Regions from separate parts of the Homo sapiens genome. Here all the other regions are linked to region 1. The links are contacts of gene promoters, found by promoter capture Hi-C in blood cells and fetal thymus (Javierre and others, 2016). All regions are on one chromosome and are shown on one strand. The core of a region is centred on a gene start or on the middle of the fragment in contact, and the rest is flanking DNA. Distances in the headings are between cores, read along the strand shown.

Region 1 (3,714 bases), core at 499-2,998:
GTAGTCAAGTAACAAGATCAGATTTCTGTTTCAGAAATACCGCTCTGACAGCAGGTGCAAGAATGGGGTGTGTGGCGGGGATGTGGAGAGCGGCTGCACAGCTGGGAGGATGTCCAGTGAACGGGCTTAATGATAACTCAGGCTGGATATAGGGGAGGCCTAATTTAAGACAGTAGCAGTGGGGCAAATAGATGGAGGGCTGATTTGCTAGTCACTAACAGGCAGCAGCCTCAGGTCTTGGTGATGGGGGCTGATTTGCTAGTCACTAACAGGCAGCAGCAGCAGCCTCAGGTCTTGGTGATGGGGGCTAATTTGCTAGTCACTAACAGGCAGCAGTCTCAGGTCTTGGTGATGGGCGGGGTCAGGGGCGGAGGGCGGCTGTGTCACAGGGGGGCAGAGCTGCAAGCAACTCTTTTGGTGCCAGGGGCAAGCTGCGGAAAAGAGAACTCAGAGTTATGGGGGGTGTGGGGAAGATAACTCCTGGAGGAAACTCTGTCATGCCCCCAGCCCATCCTCCTACGAACTAGCCCTGGAATAATTAGGTGAATTTGAAAATGTCCTCCGTAGGCGGGAGTTCTATTCGGGGTTACCTGCGGCCTCCCCGGTCCTGGATTTCAGTCCTCTAGGTATTTCCTGAGTAGCTCTTAATAATACAGAAGCCCCTTTCCGGTGTAGGTCGGTAAGAAGCACTGCACAGAAATCTGATGCGAAGTGGGGTCTCCTAGCGGAGAGGGAGGCACCTTATAAGTAATCACTAATCCAGGTTGAGATATTAATTATTGATGTCAAGAAATCGGGCTTTTATTATATCTTTTTAAAAACTGTGTCTTGAGGCCAGGCGCTGTCGCTCACGCCTGGAATCCCAGCACTTTGGGAAGCTGAGGCGGGCGGATCATGAGGTCAGGAATTCGAGACCAGCCTGGCCAACATAGTGAAACCCCGTCTCTACTAAAAATACAAAAATTAGCCGGGCGTGGTGGCACACGCCTGTAGTCCCAGCTACTCGGGAGGCTGAGGCAGGAGAATCGCTTGAACCCGGGAGGCAGAGGTTGCGGTGAGCCGAGATCCTACTACTGCACTCCAGCCTGGGCGACAGAGCAAGACTCCGTCTCAAAAAAAGAAAAAAAATTGTGTCTTGAGTAGAATTTTAATGTGGAGAATGAGCTGTTCGGTAAATCAATTCTTCCCTTTGCAAAGCTGTAAAACATTTAAAACATTTGGCCAGGGTGACATGGGCACAGAAGGGGCAGACAGGAGGTCGGCAGCCAGGTCTGTGGAGGAGTAGCCACAGGTGCAAGAGGCCGCGTCAGCGTCCTCCCAATCAGCCTCTGCTGAGGGAGTGCCGCGCGCGGCGAGCCGCGCACTCCCCTTGCCTTTCTCCCGGCGGCTGGTACTCGCTCTTAGAGATCTGCGTTAGCTCAGAGCTAGGCTCGGTGCCGCAGAGGCACCTGAGGTTCCACGACTGCATTCCAGGCCCCGCCCCTTCATCGGGATCTGGAAGGAGGAGCGCCGTGCGCGCCCGCGCCGGCGCGAGCGCTGAAGCTCCGCCCCCAGCTTCTACCTCCGGTTCTATCCCGGCGTTTCGCCCTTCCCCACAGACCTCTGCCCCGGACCCATTTCCGAGGCGCGCCGCATGCGCCGCGCAACCCAGGCCACGAGCACGGGCGCGTGCTTAAGTCAGCGCGCGCCCGCTCCGACGCGAGGAGGCCCCGCCCTCCAGCCCCGCCCCGCTCGCTGGCCTGCCCTCCTCTTGCTACCCTCCCGGCGCAGAGAACCCCGGCTGCTCAGCGCGCTCCGCGGTCATGGAGATCCCCGGGAGCCTGTGCAAGAAAGTCAAACTGAGCAATAACGCGCAGAACTGGGTAAGCTGGGGACGAAGGCGAGACGGCGAGGAGCGGAGGGGCTGTGGGAGCAGCTCGTTCCGGAGCCGCCGCCTCTCTCCCGCCTCCTCCGCATCCATCCTTCCAGGAGCGCGGAGGTGGGTTCCGGGGCTGCGGCGCCTCCCGGCTGGGGCCGTGGGTGGTTGCGAGGCAGAGGGGCGCGGCGCAGGGTGGGGATCTCGCCCTAGCTTGGCGCAGCGTGCGGTCCGAGCCACCGTTCGTGGGAAGAACGCCCCCCCTCCCCAGCGCCTCCGCTCAGGTAAGACCCCCAGGAAAATCCTTCACCCGTGAACTGGCGCTTGCTGAAACCTCCGGGTGCTGAAACCTGCGGCTGCAGAAACAGGAGCTTCCTGCATACCTTGGAGTGGCCTGAAGATGTGCAGAGAAGGCGGAGGCGGGCGCCTTCGACGCGTTCTTGGTTTTTCTTGGCTCTGCCAGTGCGGTTGGCCCAGGTTTGGGTCCATCTCCGTGTCTTTCCATTTCTGAGTTTCAGTGTGAAAGGAGAGTACCCAACAATGTGGTCATTCATGAGTTGAGACTGCCCTGAACTGAGGTTCTTTGTGTCTCTGTGTTAAATCGGAATGTTTAACAAGTAGGAGTTTGGAAGACTCCATTCCTGGTGACAGTCAGGTATGGGACCAGTCCTTTATAACGTTTAGTAATGACTGCCAGTTGACTTTGTAAAGTGCTGTGTCCTCATAACGTTGCTTACTTCCTTAATTTCTCTGTGATGAGAAAGAGCCTTATCTTCCTTTGTAAGTGTGCAGCAGGGAAGGGCCCATCTTTGGAGTCTGGAAAGGCACTGGTTTAAGTTTAGACGGAAACGTTATTTCACAGTCCAATGGAATAATAAGGTTTAAATGCAATGTCTCCCAAAACGTTACTTGCCCTAGATGAATCAAAGAAAAAAAAAACAAGCAATTTCAGGCAAATGTTCTTTGGAAGTCATTAATTTACCACATCTGTTGTTATTGTTATCATGAGTTGTTTACTGATTCCTCTCTCCTTTTATTTAACTCTATAGATGGTAAGGAGGGGAAGGAGATTTAAAAGATGAATTAGAACAGTGGAAAGAGCGCTGGACTCCTGGCCTGGTCTCTCATCCCAGCTTTGCCATTTACTAGCTGTGTGATCTTGAGGAGAGTCACTTTACTTTTTCGAACCTCAGTTGACTTAAGGGTATAATAGTATGTACTTCACGGGATTGTTTTGATGAACAAAGAAGACAGATCATGAATTTGAATGTGCGGTGAAACCACTGCCTTGAAACTCAGACTCAGTTTCGCTTCTCTTACCTTAAGGTGTTTCACGGTTAGGGAAATAAGGTTGGCTTACTTGGGGTATTTACAGATGATTTCTGTTACATTGTCCATTTATGTACTCATTTATTTATTAACATTTGCCACATGGTGCGTATTCTATGTAGAGACTTGTGCTAGACATGGTGGTGAAAAATGTGGGACTTACTGCTTGCCTTCTGGTAGTTCATGGTTTGTGTTGGGGTTGTGACATTTGCCAAGTGGTGAATATGTCTTTGTGGTCCAGAGTGAGTGGCGTAAGACAGAAGTTTTATTGCAATTTAGAGGAGAGATTAGTTTCGCCTGGGCGTTTTGGGAGGGTTTATGGAGGATTTCAGATTTCTGAGTCAGAGGGGAACTGCATGGATAAGTGTTGGGAATAAAAATTACTATTTTTTTTACTCCAGAAACATTGACGAAACTTGTTTGACTGCCCTGGAGAGTTTTTGTTGGGAAGTGGAGGTAAGGTTCAATAGGGAGGCTGGGGCTCCGTGATGCTCTTGTGTTTGGCTGCAGAGAAGACTTGATTCTATGGG
Region 2 (3,714 bases), core at 829-3,328, 4.5 Mb before region 1:
AAAGAAATACTCCACCTGCTTATGTTTTTATGGCATATCTACAGACAATTAACACTCACGCTGATTCATGGATTTCCTCCTGCCACCTCCCTGTGCTGCCAAGCTCACGAGCTGAGGGAGTAGAACCTACAATTTTAATGCCGTACTCTACGGAGACCCCATGAAAAAAACAAAACTAAAGTCCACAGACACATCATGTAGTCCAAAGTCAAATATAAAGTTTTTTGCTTATCCATTTAGAATGTAAGTACTGCTCCCTCACCAACCAACTTTCTTGGAGTTAGAATTTAACGCCCTGTAACACAACTACAAATAATAGTAAAAGCCAAAGATTGTGTGGCATCTAGTTATTGGGCAAGCCTACTTAAGCAGCTTGACCTTGTAAGTTTCATTCACACACAAAAATTATAAATACTTAAACCAGATGATCCTGGATGACAAGATAAAACAACTGTCATGTCCCACTCAAGAGTAATAACTCATAAATTAGGGAAATCGAAATATTACACTAGGCACAAACTGCAAATCCTTGCCCTTCCATTCTAGGGATACTTAGTGTAAAACCTTAGCTATTTTGTATCAGAGAGGTGACACAATGCCTAATTAATGAATGAGAATCCTATATTTTATAAGATCTCCATTACCAAAGATTCAAATTATGATCATTTACTGCAATTTATTTATGTTGAACATCTTATTACCCAATAATGTTAGTTAAATGGAACAGATTATGAAAAATTAGCAATCTGTTTCAGAAAGTGCAAAACAGTCTTAGTCCTTACACAAACTGGCTTGGTTCAGATTTTCAATTCTAGGTTTGAATTCCGGAGGGACATTTAATAACAACAAAGCCAACCCCAAAGGAATTTGCTCTAATTTTTTCAATATATATGAAATAAAAAAACACAAAAACGGAATTATGAAATTACTATTCTGTGGATGGTGCATATACAAAACCTAAGCAATATCCCAGGTTTACTCAAGAGAAGTGAAGTTCAGAAGGACTGCAATTTACCTAATGTTACAGGACGTTTGAGTAGCAATCAGGGCAAGGAATTCCTCTCGAAATTTCAAAAACTTAATACGAAAAAATTACACATTGTCCCTGTAGTTATGAGCACCAAGAATCTGAATGCCCATTGGGAACTCTGCAATTCAGCAAGTCTTTGTAGCTACCAGAGTTCATCAGTATCTGGAACCTTATTTTACTCCAGCATCCAAATGACTTCTACTTAAAATCAATCTGAGGCATTAACTCCGGAGCCAGATCCCACCTGCTCTGCCAGGGCTAAAGAGAGGGTCAGATACAGGGATACTAGCTTTGGCGTTAAACCTAAGCTCAGCGCAGGGTGTGTCCAGGTTGCCGTGGAGCCGGTCCTACAGCCCATTAGCGCGAAGCTACCCCTTGTTTCCTGGAGATGATGTCTCCCGTGACTCCTTCCCCGCGTGACAGGGCGCCCTGGCAGGAGGGACACCCCGCCCCCTCTTCTACCTCTTTCCGAGGAGGCCCCAAGACCGGACCCCAGACTGGGCCTCCAAGACGACCACCAGTCTGACGTCTGCTAAGCAGTGAGTGTAGCAGGGCTCTCGACCGCCACCTCCAGCCGCCGGGGGACGGTGAAAGGGATTCCCCGCCGGGGGCCGAAGAGGAGGAGCCACGGGGGCCGGGCCCCTCCCCCAGCGGGCTTACCCTCCGCCGCCGCCTACTCGCTGCAGCCGCCCCGCTTCCTTGCGAAGCAGTCCGAAGCACTGCGTCCAGCAGCAGTTCCCCATCGCATGCCGCCCAGGCGCCGCCGCTCCTCCTCCTCCTCCCGCTCAATGCCCAAACCCAGGCCCGGCAGCTGCATCCGCACGGCACGAGCCGAAATGGGGTTCAAGGACCGAGGGCGGGCCGGCCAGAGCCCGGCGGCGTGAGGGCACGGGGCGACGAAAGACGAGGCGCTAGGGAACAAAGGCAGTGTTTACTCCAGCGGCCGCAGAGCCACCGCTGCGCGAGGGAGGAGCACCGGGCTCAAGGCTCTGGACTCCCTCGCCGTCCGCATGGCCCTTCTCGCCTCAGCTCCTAGCCCAGCGTGAGTGACCGCCTCCAGCTGCCGAAGGAGGCCAGTCCCCGCGAGCCGAGCACCCTGGCCCCGCCCCCAGCGCGCCCAGGCCCCTGCTCGCCGCCAACGCTGCCACACCCCCGGCCTCTCCCGCGCCCCAATTGGGCGCGCTACCTCGGTGCCCCGCCTTCTCTGGCGACCGGCCTGTGCGTCACTTCCGCTCGCTCCTGGTTCAGCCGCCTCTGCCTGCGAGACGGTTCAATTCCTGCGTGCGGACGTTTGTTTTGTTGGACCTTGACCTGACTAGGAAATTTCCCTCTCTCATTGCAGTTTCGGGCATCCTCGTCCGGAGCACGCTGGGCGTGGCATGGCTAAGGCTCAGCCTTCGAACTTTGTATCAAAGGCGTGTGAGGAGCCAGAGTCCCAGGCCGGAAGTCATAAGTGCGAAGGGGCGTTTCTCTGCACGGTGTGCTTAGTTTTTGTTAATACTGCACCATAAGCGGAAAATAGACTCGGGAACTGATTGAGGTTACTTTGAACGCACCAAGATTTTTTTCCGGTCTCTGGTTTGTGTCTTAATTTCCATACTGTTAATGTTTTAGGGAAACGTAATAATGGTGCATTATTGTCCTCGTTTTGTTTGAAAATCAGATCTTCACATAATTTTGGGTTGGGTAGTTGGGGTTCAGAGGAAATTGGCAAGAGGGCTGGGGTTTTTCGGGGACGTCAGCGTTGCCATTCCAAGCATGCTGCCCAGAACTGCTGTAGATGGGAAGAGAAAGCTGCTCTAATGTGTCCGCAGCCCTCTCAAGTGCTACCATATAATTCGCGTCTTGTTTGGCCTCAAGACAGTTGGCCTCACAATAGATATAAGATGTGGTTTAGTAGACACCTCGTCCAGTGGATAGGAGGATGCTCTCATGGACTGGACACATCAAGTTTTTAGCCTGTTTAATTAAACCTAGAAAAATTGTTACATTTTAGAAAGTTTTTATTGATGATAAAATGTTCTCTGAACTCATTTTCTTGCTTCTTTAAATACGTATCTGGTTTCAATCTTAGCACTGCTACTTACTAATGTTTATTTTATTTGGGTTTTAGTTGTTTTGTAATCAGAAGCATAGGATAACATTTGTCCCAATGGTTTGCTTTCAGTGAATGTTGGGATGACCGAATGACTTCCTAGTGAAAGCATTTTCTTTTCTCCTTCCAACCCCTGAAATTAGACAAATGTATTAATGAAATAATCATTAAAATTCAACTATAAATGTTTACAGAAACTGGTACATCTATCCTATGGAATATTTAGTAACAAATAGGAACACAGTATTGATGAACACACCCTGAAATGAATCTGTAGGAAATTATGGTTAAAGAAAAAGCCAATCTCAAATGCTTATATACTGTGTAATTCCATTATGTAACATCTCAGAATTGATAAATTTATGTAAGTGGACAACAGAATAATTGATTGCCATGGGTCAGGGAATGGAAATCCTGCATCTTGTCTATATTAATGTCAGTATTCTGGTTGTGATATTGCAATAGTTTTGTAACATGTCACCACTGGGGGAAACTAGATTAAAGATATACACGGTCATCTGTATATTATTTCTTAAAACTGCATGTGACACAATTGTCTCAATATAAAAAGTTTGATTAAAAAAATGCA
Region 3 (3,714 bases), core at 624-3,123, 4.4 Mb before region 1:
GCAAAAACAGAATGATAAAAATAACACTTCAAAGGAGTACAGGAGAATGAACTTTCATGACATTCAATGAAGGAGGCAGGTATGCAAAGTGATATGTTTTCTAAGATGTACTTTTCATTTTTTGTTTTATCCTTTTACTTTGTACCATAAGCAATTTTGGAAAGACCACAACTATTAGTGATGTCTACATAATCATACTAATGAAGTACACAGAAGCTTAAATGAAGTATTTTTATATGCTCCCTTACAACTATTTGAAAATTTACTTTGGAAACCCCTGCTCAAATGCAACCCCTCCCCACCCCCAAAGGAATTCTTGTGCTGTCTTCTTCACTTTTCCAGTTAAGCAATTTAAGTTAGAGGAAATCAAGCCCTTGAGCAAATGAATAGTTAACGGGAAAAACCACTAGGAAGGGAATCCGAAGAACAAGCTACCAAATTATTTGCTTGAGTCACTTTCTCTTATATTGTCACAGATGAAAAATTACACTCCACGTGGTGATCAAACCTAACGCTAAGGCATATTTTGTGTGCCACACAGTATTACTCTGTTTCCTAAGTAACCTATTGAAACAATGTAAGGTATACATCTATTAATGCATTTAGTGATGATACTGGAATTTGTGAAACGTGACAGAAAGGACAGATGAAGAAAGATGAGGAGAGACAGGTATTAATTGTCCTAACAGTACAGGCTGTAATAAAGGCCAATAATCATTTGAATTCCTGCTCCTTAATGTGAGTCTAAAGAGCGGCTTACCTCAGGTATTTGGAAAGTCTAAATACTGTATTTGCTGTAGAAAATTCATCCAACATACAATTCAATTTTTAAAATTAAACCTTTTGCCTAATCTTTAAGATATTTGATGTTATAATGCCCATTATCACACTTTATTTAAATGAGATAAACTCAGAGAGTTTAAAAAATTACGCAACTTCTCTTTTCCCTTACTATGGCTGGCCTCTTATAACCGAAAGCAATATTCTTGCCTCTCCACTTTTTAACTGAAGCTTTGATCTCATCTGTATTTATGAAGAACGTGCTCTGGGAGAGTCCCTGTCAAGACATTCATTGTAACACCCGCTCCTACTCATGCTTTCAGCGCTGCCCGTGGACGGAATCCACCCACACCTTCCAGACACGCTAGGTGTGGGCTCGGAAACGCAAGATGGAGGGCGGGAGGGGAGCCGGCGTCTCCTAAACCTGGCGCAGGGCACGGACTCGAAGTTGAAAAAGAAGTGTTTACAAGTGAGGCTTTTAAATAAATCACCGCTATGGAGGGCATTTCCTCCGAGCCCTGGGCGCCAGCCTGAGAATCCTCTGCCGGACGCCAGGGGACGAACCACGCTGACCCCGCCAGACACGCGACCCCGGGGCCGGCGCTGGCGTCTGCACTCGCGCGACCCCGCCGCTCCTCCTGGGAGCGCCGTCTAACCGCTCCCGGCGACGACTTCCCAGAGCGCCGGGGAGCCAGTGCCCACGCGGGGCAGAGCTGCGGCGCGGCCCGCGGGCCGGGCCCCTTCCCTCCAACGCCGGGCGGGGCTCGCGGCCCCCGACCCGGCCGCTTCGCCGCCGCCCCTCCCCGCGCTCACCTGCTCGCTCTCCTTCGGCCGCTGTCCGCGCCGCCGCGGGCTCGCCCCGGGATCCCACCCGGTCCCTGCCGCCTCCCGCTCCGCCAGCGCGTCCCCGTCCTCGTCGCGTTCCCCGCCGTCGCCGCCCCGCAGCAGCTCCCCGGCTGAGCACATCCCGCAGCCAACTCCTACCGCCCCGGACAGCCGCCGGAGGACCACGCCGCGACGCACCAGGCAGCGCCGCCGCCCGAAGGCTGCCCTGGGATCCGCCGCACCCGCCGCTGACAGGAGCCGCCGGAGCGCGCCCCGCCGGCCTGGGCGCCTGAAGTACCAGCCCGGCCCCTCCTGTCACTGGCTCGCCCAACCCCCGGCCGTCGGGGCGGAGCCGTACAGGGGAGGGGCCAAGACAGGGGGCGGGGCCAACGGTGTGTTGGGGGGCGGGGGTGTGTGTGTGAGATTGAGAGAGAGGCCGACAGACTGAGAGAAGAAGGGTGTTGTGTGAAAAACTATGGACATACACTGCATGAGGGAGATTGTACATGAGAGAGGCTGTGTGTATGTATGAGGGATATTGTGTGTGCGTAAGAGACCGTTAGAGAGTGTGAGAGAGACGCTGAGCGTGATTTGTGTGTGTGTGTGAGAGAGATTCTATATAAAAGAAACTGCGTATAAGAGATTGTATGCACTTTGGGAGGCCGAGGCGGGCAGATAGCTTGAGCCCAGGAGTTGGAGACCAGCCTGGGCAACCCCATCTCTACTAAAAATAGAATTAGGCGGGCGTGGTGGCGGCAGTGTGGTCCCAGCTACTCAGGAGGCTGAGGTGGGAGGATCGTCTCAGCGCGGGAAGTCGAGGCTGCAGTGAGCAGAGATCACACCACTGCACTCCAGCGTGGGCGACAGAACCAGACCCCGTTTCAGAGAGAGAGAGAGAGAGAGAGAGGAGGGGGGGGGGAAAGAGAGAGAGAGAGAGAGAGAGAGAGAGATTGAGATTGTATGTGTATGCAAGAGACTGTGAGAGAGAGATTGTATGAGGGAACAACAGAAACTGAGAGAGATCAAGTGTGAAAGAGAAATTACTTGTGTGAGAGAGCCAGTGCATATATTTAAGAGAGAGCGCATTTGTATAAGAGATTAGTGTGTGTGGGTTTGTATGTGAGAGAGAAACACACACATGCACCCAGTTACACTCTCCAGCAGAGTACCCCTGTTCTTGCCTGAGTATCTGCCCGTCCTTTTCAAGGAAGACACATTTCACTGTCCCTCTTGTTCCTTTAGCCTCCTTTCCTAGTGTCTCACTGAAGGTCTGTGTATTTGTCCCTTTCTGTTGAGTGCTTCCTAGTGTGTGTTGTTTGTTGGAGCCTTGGGTCGTTTGATGGTGTATCAAATGATGTATCTTTCTGTAACTGGGTAAGAATATGTCTTTCTCAGTGGGTGGTGAGGGGAATATATCCAATTGATAATTATTTTTTGTACTACTCCATCCATTTTATTCAAGGAAAATGGAAGGGTGTTTAAATAAAATATCACTTTTTTTTCTGTGTATGCCTTATCTGTACATTGGGAAAACGATGGGTTATTGTACAGGTAAAATACAGAAAAGTAAATATGGAAAGTAAACATGTGTACACATGGAGAAGAGTAAGAGTTATTTGGGATCTTCTATTAAAATGTTTTCAGGCCCAGAGAAGGAATTAAAATAGGCAGAATCTCATAGGCTTATTTTAAAGAAGTTTCCTGTTTTTTGTAGTCAGGAGATTCTCAGTCTTTCTCACACACCCACAATCTCTCATACACACAATCTCTCTCATACACACATGATTTCACATACATACAGTCTCTCTCACACATATACAACCTCGCGCACACACCATCTCTCACACATGGTTTCTCACACATGCCCTCTCTGATTGTCTCTCCTCCACAAACAATCTCTCTAGGGGCCAGAAAATATGCCGTTGGATATCAAAAATTAGAAAGAAAATGAATCTGGTTCATTCCCTTTCTTAAAAGTCTTTAAAACTCCAGAAAAGAGTATTTAATATTATATACATACAATCAGAAACAAATATCACCATGGGAACCCAGTAGCCTTTCTGATGGGCCTCATTTTTTTTCCCCTGAAGGCAACATTTTCATTCTTGG

What was found. The method cuts DNA at HindIII sites, captures the fragments that hold promoters and counts their contacts. A CHiCAGO score of 5 or more calls a contact.
Region 2: a contact is called between the fragment with the promoter of AP1AR here and the fragment with the promoter of PAPSS1 in region 1, in 2 of 17 cell types (naive CD8 T cells and total CD8 T cells). The highest score is 7.0, in naive CD8 T cells.
Region 3: a contact is called between the fragment with the promoter of FAM241A here and the fragment with the promoter of PAPSS1 in region 1, in 5 of 17 cell types (naive CD8 T cells, non-activated CD4 T cells, activated CD4 T cells and 2 more). The highest score is 6.5, in naive CD8 T cells.

Annotation. Positions count from the first base shown.
Region 1 is chr4:107,718,268-107,721,981 of GRCh38, reverse strand. PAPSS1 (3'-phosphoadenosine 5'-phosphosulfate synthase 1) reads left to right here and starts at 1,748. Exons shown (of 12, transcript NM_005443.5): 1 at 1,748-1,862. The coding sequence starts at 1,803. RefSeq lists enhancers at 296-445, 2,436-2,495 and a silencer at 1,556-1,805. The HindIII fragment of the contact is 5,198 bases long and covers 1-3,714 here.
Region 2 is chr4:112,230,151-112,233,864 of GRCh38, reverse strand. It overlaps AP1AR (adaptor related protein complex 1 associated regulatory protein), which reads right to left and starts at 2,078. Exons shown (of 10, transcript NM_018569.6): 1 at 1,691-2,078. The coding sequence starts at 1,773. It overlaps AP1AR-DT (AP1AR divergent transcript), which reads left to right and starts at 1,715. Exons shown (of 1, transcript NR_186684.1): 1 at 1,715-3,714. RefSeq lists enhancers at 1,284-1,333, 1,358-2,305 and silencers at 1,544-1,813, 1,974-2,253. The HindIII fragment of the contact is 11,290 bases long and covers 1-3,714 here.
Region 3 is chr4:112,143,613-112,147,326 of GRCh38, reverse strand. FAM241A (family with sequence similarity 241 member A) reads right to left here and starts at 1,873. Exons shown (of 2, transcript NM_152400.3): 1 at 1,594-1,873. The coding sequence starts at 1,746. RefSeq lists an enhancer at 963-1,102 and a silencer at 1,443-2,092. The HindIII fragment of the contact is 3,530 bases long and covers 1,014-3,714 here.